2 separate regions of the Homo sapiens genome follow, and region 1 is linked to region 2. The links are contacts of gene promoters, found by promoter capture Hi-C in blood cells and fetal thymus (Javierre and others, 2016). All regions are on one chromosome and are shown on one strand. Each heading gives the region's core, a stretch centred on a gene start or on the middle of the fragment in contact. The rest is flanking DNA. Distances are from core to core; before and after follow the strand shown. Region 1 has its middle 43 kb from the start of TGILR. Region 2 holds the start of PXDC1 (PX domain containing 1).

Region 1 (4,616 bases), core at 1,108-3,607, 200 kb before region 2:
GAGATCTCACATCAGTTCCTCTTCTGAGATAGGGTCTCAGCTCTAAATGGGCTGCCCTTGGGCCCAGCACCTCCTCCTGGAGCCTGGACAGTGAGAAGGCACAGTCTACTTTCTCAGAGGGCCTGTCTGAGTCACACCACTGGGAACTCTTCTCTGAATCAACAGAGGCAGAAACTGATGCCTGAAAAGGTGGGGTGGGAGGTGTTTCCTAGGAGGGTGCCCTTCAACCCTGTGATCTACGTCTCTGAAGCATGTCCTTGCCTCAGTATTGAGAAGTCTGTCTAGTTGGCTTGTTTCTTTCACCTGCTCAAATTGTTTGGGTTAAGCCTGCAAAGCCTGGATTAATAGACACATTTGGCTAACAGAATGTTTACACATATTATCAAAATAATTTATGGTTAGAATTTAAGGTTGTTTGATATCACTGGACACTGAACAAGTGGGCCCCCACAACATAGTGTTTATTTTCATTTTTTCATAAACCTAGATAAATGAATTGCTGTTTTAAAAACAAATACGTAACACAAGGGCAACTGGTATGAAGTTTACCAGAAGTCGCGGTTAGTTAGAAGCTATTATTAATTTTTTTAGAAGTTTGAAGCAAGGCAATGTGGAACATTTTATTTATTCCATTGATATTTATTGAGAATCAACTATGCACCGGGCACTGTTCTAAGCCCTGGAGATACATCAGTGAACCAGATAGACACATTTCTTGCTTTCATGGAACTTAAATAGTATATGTAATCAACCTGTTTTTCCATTTTTTAGAACAATGAAGAGTAGGGCAGGAGTGGAATGAGGGTCAAAAGTAAGCCTTGGAGTCCTGCCCCAAAGTTTTCTAATTAGATTATGAAGGAAAGACCTTATGCAACTAAATTACCCATTTGGGTCAGGTGTAGTGGCTCATGCCTGTAATCTCAGCACTTTGGGAGGCCAAGGCAGGAGATCACTTGAGGCCAGGAGTTCAAGACCAGCCTGGCAAACATAGGGAGACCTCATCTCTATAACAAATTTAAAAATTGGTAGGGCATAATGATGTGCACCTGTGGTCCCAGCTACTCAGGAGGCTGAGGTAGGAGGATCATTTGAGACTGGGAAGTCGAGGCTGCAGTGAGCTGTGATCGCGCCACCGCACTCCAGCCTGAGAGACAAAGGGTCATTTGTGTCCTATTGATATTTGTAATAATTAATGGTCTTGTTGCCCCTTAGGGTTGCTTCCTTTTCCTTTTCCCTCACTCTCATTTTCCCTGACTAAAAAGGAAAAAAACTCAACAAATAACTAGTAGCTGGCATGTTAATTATTAGATCACTTTTAAGCTTTAATAAACCCAATGATGTATGATGAAACCTCAGGCCCCATAGCCTGAGTAGGTACCAGTTTCATCACAAAAGACCCATTGTTGCCTCAGCCAGTGTTCATTGAGTTATGCAGCCCCAGGCTAGCATGAAGAACCCTGCCCTACCTCCAGCTCTGATTTACTTTATCTGAAGCAGATTCATCGCTGCTCACAAAATGAGTTCCTTGCAACCCATTAAAATCCTCAAAGTACAAGGCCATGAATGGGGCACTCCTTCTTGCTACTCTCAGCAAATTAGCAACCTGATTCTAAAATTTATGCAAGACGCAAAAGGCCAAGAAAAGCCAAGACATCCTTAAAGAACTAAAAAATAAAGCACTCGAGAGAAACTAAGACTTAATATAAAGCCACAAGAATTAACACAGTAACATTGAAACAAGAATAGAAAAGAGAGCAATGGAAAAATCAAAGTCCAAAAACAGAGCCACACATATGTAGGTATGTGATCTATGACAAAGAAAGTATTGGCCGGTGGCTCATGCCTGTAATCCCAGCACTTTGAGAGGCTGAGGTGGGCTGATCACGTGAGGTCAGGAGTTCAAGACCAGCCTGGCCAACATGGTGAAAACTCATCCCTACTAAAAGACACAAAAATTAGACGGGCATGGTGGTGGGCGCCTGCAATCCCAGCTTCTCAAAAGGCTGAGGCAGGAAAATTGCTTGAACCCGGGAAGCAGATATTGCAGTGAGTCGAGATCGCGCCACTGCACCCCAGCCTAGGCGACAGAGTGATACTCTGTCTCAAAAAAAAAAAAAAAAAGTATTGTAAGCCGGGCACGGTGGCTCATGCCTGTAAGCCCAGCACTTTGGGAGGCCAAAGCGGGTGGATCATCGGAGGTCAGGAGTTCGAGACTAGCATGGCCAACATGGTGAAACCCCGTCTCTACTAAAAATACAAAAAATTAGCCAGGCGTGGTGGCACGCACCTGTAATCCCAGCTACTCGGGAGGCTGAGGCAGGAGAATCACTTGAACCCAGGAGGTGGAGGTTGCAGTTAGCCAAGATCGTGCCATTGCACTCCAGCCTGGGCAATAAGAGCAACATTCTGGCTAAAAAAAAAAAAAAAAAAAAAAAAGAAAAAGAAAAAAGAAAGTATGGTAGACTAGTGAAAAAAATACATTTAAAAAAGTAATGGTGCAAAGTCATTTGAACAACTATATAAAAAAAAGAAAACCTTGGAACATATACCATCTACAACAATCAATTTCAGAAAGTAACTTTAAAAATAAATGTTTAGGTGGGCCACAGTGGCTCATGCCTGTAATCCCAAAACTTTGGGAGGCAGAAGCAGGCAGATTGCTTGAGTCCAGTAGTTTGAGACCAGCCTGTCCAACATGGCAAAACTCTTTCTCTACTAAAAATACAAAAATTAGGGGAGTGTGGTGGCGTATCTGTGGCCTCAGTTACTCAGAAGGCTGAGGTACAAGAATTGCTTGAACCATGGAAGTGGAGATTGCAGTCAGCCAAGATTGCACCACTGCACTCCAGCCTGGGAGACAGAGACTCCATCTCAAAAAAAAAAAAAAAAAAAAAAAAAAAAAAAAGAATATGAATGTTTAACAAATAGCACATAAGAGAAGATACATTATTTTTATAATATCAAGTTAGAGGAAGATTTCTTAAACAGATCACCAAAAAAAAACAGTACTTATAAAGAAAGAGATTGGCGAATTGGACTACATTCAAATTAAGAATTCCTGTTTATCACCTCTATGCATACAAACTAGAAAATCTAGAATAAATGGATAAATTCCTGGACACATATACCCTCCCAAGACGAAAGCAGGAAGAAATTGAATCCCTGAACAGACTCTGAAATTAAATCAGTAATAAATAGCCTACTGACTACAAAAAGGCCAGTCCAAGATAGATTCACAGCCAGATACTACCAGATGTATAAGAAGAAGCGGTATCATTCCTACTGAAACTATTCAAAAAAATTGAGGAGAGACTCCTCCCTCACTTTTTCTATGAGGCTAGCATTATTCTGACACCAAAACCTGGCAGAGACACCACAAAAAAATAAAGCTTAAGGCCAGTATTCTTGATGAACATCCATGCAAAAATCCTCAACAAAATGCAGGCAAACCAAATCCAACAGCACATCAAGAAGCTTATTCATCACGATCAAGTAGGGTTTATCCCTGGGGTAAAAGGTTGATTTAACATACTCAAATCAATAAATGTGACTTATCTCATAAACAGAACTAAAGACAAAAACCACATGATTATCTCAATATATGCAGAAAAGGCTTTTGATAAAATTCAATACCCTTTCATGTCAAAAACTCAATAAACGAGGTATTGAAGGAACATATCTCAAAATAATAAGAGCCATCCATGATAAACCTACAGACAACATCATACTGAATGGGGAAAAGCTGGAATCATTCCCCTCGAGAACTGGCATAAGAGAAGGATGCCCGCTCTCACCACTCCTATTCAACATTGTATTGGAAGAACAAGCCAGAGCAACCAGGCAAGAGAAAGAAAGAAAGGGCATCCAAATCGGAAGAGAAGTCAAACTGTCCCTGTTTGCAGATGACATGATTCTATATCTAGAAAACCCTATAGTCTCAGCCCAAAAACTCCTTAAGCTGATAAACAACTTCAACAAAGTCTCAGAATACAAAATCCATGTACTAAAGTCACTAGCATTCCTATACAGTAACAACAGTCAAGCCAACAGCCAAATCAGGAATGCAATCCCATTCGCAATTGGCACACACACAAAAAATACCTAGGAAGGCAGCTAACCAGGGAGGTGAAAGAGCTCTATAAGGAGAACTACAAAATGCTTCTCAAAGAAGTCAGAGATGACACAAACAAATGGAACAACATTCTATGCTCATGGATAGGAAGAATCAATATCATTAAAATGGCCATACTGCCCAAAGCAATTTATAGATTCATTGCTATTCCTATCAAACTACCAATGACATTCTTCAAAGAACTAGAAAAAACTTTTAAAATTCATATGGAACCAAAAAAGAGCCCAAATAGCTAAGGCAATCTGAAGCAAAAAAAAAAAAAAAAAAAAAAAAAAAAAAAAAAAAAAAGAAAAAAGAAAAAAAAGAAACAAAGCTGAAGGTATCATGCTACCTGACTTCAACTATACTACAGGGCTACAGCAACCAAAACAGCATGGTATATTGGTACAAACACAGATACATAGACCAATGGAGCAGAATAGAAAGCCCAGAAATAAGGCTGCAGGCTGCACACCTACAACCATCTGATCTTTGACAAAGCAAA
Region 2 (4,428 bases), core at 258-2,757:
GCTTTGTGACTTAAGAGTTTTTGGCTCTGTTATACCTGCAAGGTAACTCAACATTGTTACAAACAGAGTAAGCCCCGTTTGGGCTGGTACTGTGGTTACAACGGCACTTATTCCCACCACCTAGAGTCAAGAGCTGCTGGCACACTGGCTGTTTACTTCCAGTTCCCACGGCCCCTATTCCCCTATACAAAATTACACAGGAAACATATGCGTTCATTTAATTAGCAAGTGTATATAAAAACATCATAGACAAAGCAAAAGTCTCTCTTGACACTCTCCATCTTGACCTGTTCACCGCCCCAGACCAGGTGAGGAAATTTGAAGCTATGCTATCTGCAAGTCACTGGCGCAGTCGGAATAAAAGTTGGTCGTGGTGGGGGCGGGGGGGGGGTGGTCATCTGGGTCGGGACTGAGTCGAGGCAGGTGGGACTGAGTGGTAGGGACCTGGGGGGACATCTGGGTCGGGTCTGAGTCCAGACAGGCCACCTGCCTTGGGCCTCTAACATTTCCGCGCAGCGCTGGGCTTTGAGGCTTTCCAGAGCGCTGCCGGGGCGGGGGCGGGGTGAGGTGAGGGGCTCACCCTGGCTCTCCCACCCCTGCCTACGGGCTGTGAGGTCACTCGATTCATTTCTGGAACTAACTTGTAATTCTCAAACAAGTGCTATTAATTCTCTTCCAACTAGGAACGGCCTCAGTAACGCGCCGCTGAGTCAGTTTTCAGGGCGGGCGGTTTCCCCAAGTCCACTCCTGAGGCCCCTCAAGAGCACCCACCGCGTCCAGCTTCCCAGGGCGCTCCTTCCCAGGAGACCTTCTTTTCGCCACTGTTTTCTCCCCTCTTCCCACTTCTCCGAGGGCTGCCCCGCGGTCTGTCCGGCCGTGTCCCAGGCCTTGGCGCGGCTGAGGCATGACCGGAATGCGCGGGAGGACGCGGGGCACGGAGGGGACCTGAGGCACGGAGGGAACCCGGGGCGGGCCGGACTGGCCTGGGCCCTCGTCGGGGCGGTGCTCGACCCGGCCCGCGCCCCCCGCCCCGACACTCGCAGCCCCGCCTCCGGACCCCGGGTAGTTGCCATCCCCTCGCGGGCCGGGTGGGGCGCGCAGCTCCTAGCCCTGGGAGGTCCCGAGGATCGCGAAACGGAAAGAGAAAAAAGTCTGCGCCGAGCGCCTGGCAAGCAGGGCCCGCCCCGCCTCCCTTCCCGGCTGGTCCAGTCACCGACCTGCGGCTCCGGGGCCGCGAGGGAGGAGGCGCGGGGGGCGCGAGGCGGGGGCGAGCGCTTGGGACTCGGCCCGGCTCCCGGCTCCGGGGGTTCTCGTGGCCGCGGCAGCGCGGTCTCTGCGGAGGCGGCGGGGGCGCGGCCAGCCGGACCTCTTCCTTTCCAGAGCGGCCCGCGGCGCCCGTTCCGCGGGAGGCGGGCGGGAGGCGGACGCGGCCTAACCTCGACGTCGACTACCGCGCCGCCCGCGATGGGAAGCGCCTTATAAAGCCGCGCCCGGCCGGCCCGAGCCACTCGCCGCCGCGCCGCCCCGCTGCCCCGAACGCGGGCCATACGCAGCCTCCTTGGAGTGACGGGCCGACCCCGGACGACCCCGGCCACGGACAGACCCGGGACGACCCCGGCCGGGGCGCGCCTCCTGCGGGCGGGCGGGCGGCGGGGCTGGGGAGCCCTTGGCGGGGGCATGCGTGCGACATGGCCTCGGCGGTGTTTGAGGGCACGTCGCTCGTGAACATGTTCGTGCGCGGCTGCTGGGTGAACGGCATCCGCAGGCTCATCGTCAGCCGGCGCGGCGACGAAGAGGAGTTCTTCGAGATCCGCACGGAGTGGTCGGACCGCAGCGTGCTCTACCTGCACCGCAGCCTGGCGGACCTGGGCCGCCTGTGGCAGCGCCTGCGCGACGCCTTTCCCGAGGACCGGTCCGAACTGGCGCAGGGGCCGCTGCGGCAAGGTGCGGGGCCGGGGACGCGGGAGGGGCGCGGGGCCGAGGCAGCCTTGAAGTGCACGAAGGAGGCGGGGAAGAGACTTCAACCGAGATTGCGACTTCTCCTTTCTGCCCGCCCTGGACAGGGGACACTTGGACCCCGCGCCCGCAGACGAGGGGTGCCCGGGCGGCGGGGTTAGGGGGACGGGGAGCCAGCCTGCCCAGCCTGGGGGCGCCCCCGGCGGAGGAGCCAAATGGGGCGGGAAAGGGGCCGAGGCCGGCAGGGCGGGCGCCGGACTCTCCCTGAGGACGAGTCACTTCCGAGGAGGGCGGGGGCGCCCGGGGCTGAGCGGCTCACAGGGTCGGCCCGGCCCTAGCCCCCTGCCCGGTACCTCCCGAGGGCCGGCGGGCGGGCGCACTGGGAAAGCGTCTGGGAGCAGTTAACTGCAGGGTCCGAGCCGGGGGTCGCGTCGGGTCTGGCCGCCGCCCCGAGTTCTCCCCGCGGAGGGCGCGCCCCTGGTCTTCGAGCGCGAGGTGCCACGCAGCCCTTCCGTCCCTCCTCGGAGCGGCCGCCCCGCCCGCGGCTGCCGCGGACAGCCAGGGCCCCCCCGCACCCCCGCCAGGGCTGGTCCCCATTCGCGTTTGATCAGCTGCGCCGCCTCCTCCCCGGCCTCGTGACCGTCCTGGCTCGCGGGAATTCTTGTTTTCAGAAACCGCGGTGGCTTCCCTTTTCCTACCGCTCTGCCCGATCTTTCTTTTGGAGGCCAGGCTGAGGGGGTGGAAGCCGGGAGGACGCAAGAGAGAGGGACTGGAATTGAGACGGGAAGAATTGCGGGGTGGAGGGGGCAGGCCGAGGAGAGGGGCCGCCTGGGAGGGCCGGGAGGGGAGAAGGGGCGGGAAGACTGGAGGACTTCCGAGCAGGTCCCACCCCCCTCCATGGGTGACCACCTGTAGCTCGGAACATTGGGACAGTGGCCCAGCAGCCTTCTTTTCTGCAGTCCTCCTCTAAGCAGAGACCTCCTGAAAGCTTGGGGCCAAGTTACTGAAGCAGAAGGTGGCCCGTCCAAGTCTCCCCAGCCTCCTATCTGGCTGCGTTCTTGAGATAACCTGTGCTTTCCCCTGGCGATGGCCCCAACCCCAGTGTGAGAATTACGTGGATAATTAGCTTAGTTCTCATGACACATCTTTTGGAAGGGCTCCCACAGCCAGCGAGTTGGGGCCCTGAGCGAGAAGGCCCGCCTTTCAGGCCTCCCTCTGCTCCCCAGAGCCTCACATTTATAGCTGTTCTCCAGACAGTTGGGTGTTATTTCAAGCATGGAAGCAGTTTTCCTTGGATTTGCTGTTTGTTATGATATTTTAAATTTAACAAATCAATGCCCAAATCAGGAAAGCATCGTGAAGGAACAGCGGTTTATTCAATGACCTTTCCTGGAACGAGGCTTAAATACACTGGAGTCCCTGAGCTTCACTGTGGTCAGGCGTCTGAGCTCCGTGACCCCAGGCAGGCTGGTTGGAGCGGGATCCCCGTGGGGCTCCCCACCTGTAACTTTGTGCTTGTGGTCTCTGACGTTTGTGAGGACTGAAAGGCATGGTAGAGGGTCTAACAAGAGCAGGTTCTCCATAAATGCCAGTTGTCATTGTTACCGTCCCATCAGCTGCTTCTGGCTGGGGTTGGGCCAGACGGTGGAAAGAGGGCGTGGTTTCAGTTGCATCCACGCTGGTGGAAATACCTCACCTGGAGCAGGAGGGAGGGGCGTGCCCTGCACACACCCTGGCTCCGCCTCTTTTGCTGTCGCCCTAGTTGTGCTGGGTCTGTTACGCGGTCACAAGCTGTGTGGACACGCAGGAGTGGCTCAAAAGAGTGAAGAAAGGTTGAAGACGCGAGCGATTACCGTGGAGAAAAGGCTCAGAAGGGATATGATAGCTACCTCCAAGTACCTCAAGGGGAACAGAAATCAGAAATAGGGGTCAGAATGATGGTGGCAGGGCTGGTGGGCGGTGAGTGTGAGGTCCAGCGGCTGGGTGTAAAGGACTTTCTCACAGCACACCGTGGAACTGTTGGAGCTGCTCTCTCTGCTGGGGACAGTCTGGCACACCCTGGAGGGGGTGAAGAGGGGAGCCTGGGACCAGAACCGGGACCATAAGCCCTGCCTTCATTCTAGTCCTTGGTTTTCTGAGGGGCAGTTAGTTGGTCCCTGCCCAGCACCACCTGAGTTTTGTTGTGCAGCGCCAGGGAAGTCCTTTCCCTTTCTTTGATCCTTTTAAGTCCAGGGAAATTGTTTGCCAAGTAAAATATATCCCAGTAATGTAAAAGCAGATTGCACCTTATTTCCATGCAGATTTATTGTTTGCATAAAAAGATTATCTGGATATACAAACTATAAACACAAAAGGCAGCCAGATGTGTGTGCTTTGCTGTGCTGCAATGCCGGCTTTTCTCTGCATCATTCCCTATCACATTCCCCAGTTTACATGGATTGAACTGTTTCTGGGACGGGTTAGATTTGCATT

What was found. Contacts are between HindIII fragments. The CHiCAGO score rates a contact against its expected background, and 5 or more counts as called.
Region 1: a contact is called between a fragment that was not itself captured here and the fragment with the promoter of PXDC1 in region 2, in 2 of 17 cell types (total CD8 T cells and megakaryocytes). The highest score is 5.4, in total CD8 T cells.

What each region holds. Positions count from the first base shown.
Region 1 is chr6:3,953,042-3,957,657 of GRCh38, reverse strand. No RefSeq gene overlaps it. Among named protein-coding and RNA genes, the nearest start is that of TGILR, 43 kb to the right of the region's middle. The HindIII fragment of the contact is 2,069 bases long and covers 1,323-3,391 here.
Region 2 is chr6:3,748,792-3,753,219 of GRCh38, reverse strand. PXDC1 (PX domain containing 1) reads left to right here and starts at 1,507. Exons shown (of 5, transcript NM_183373.4): 1 at 1,507-1,944. The coding sequence starts at 1,689. RefSeq lists silencers at 994-1,163, 1,214-1,453, 2,204-2,283. The HindIII fragment of the contact is 5,359 bases long and covers 1-2,946 here.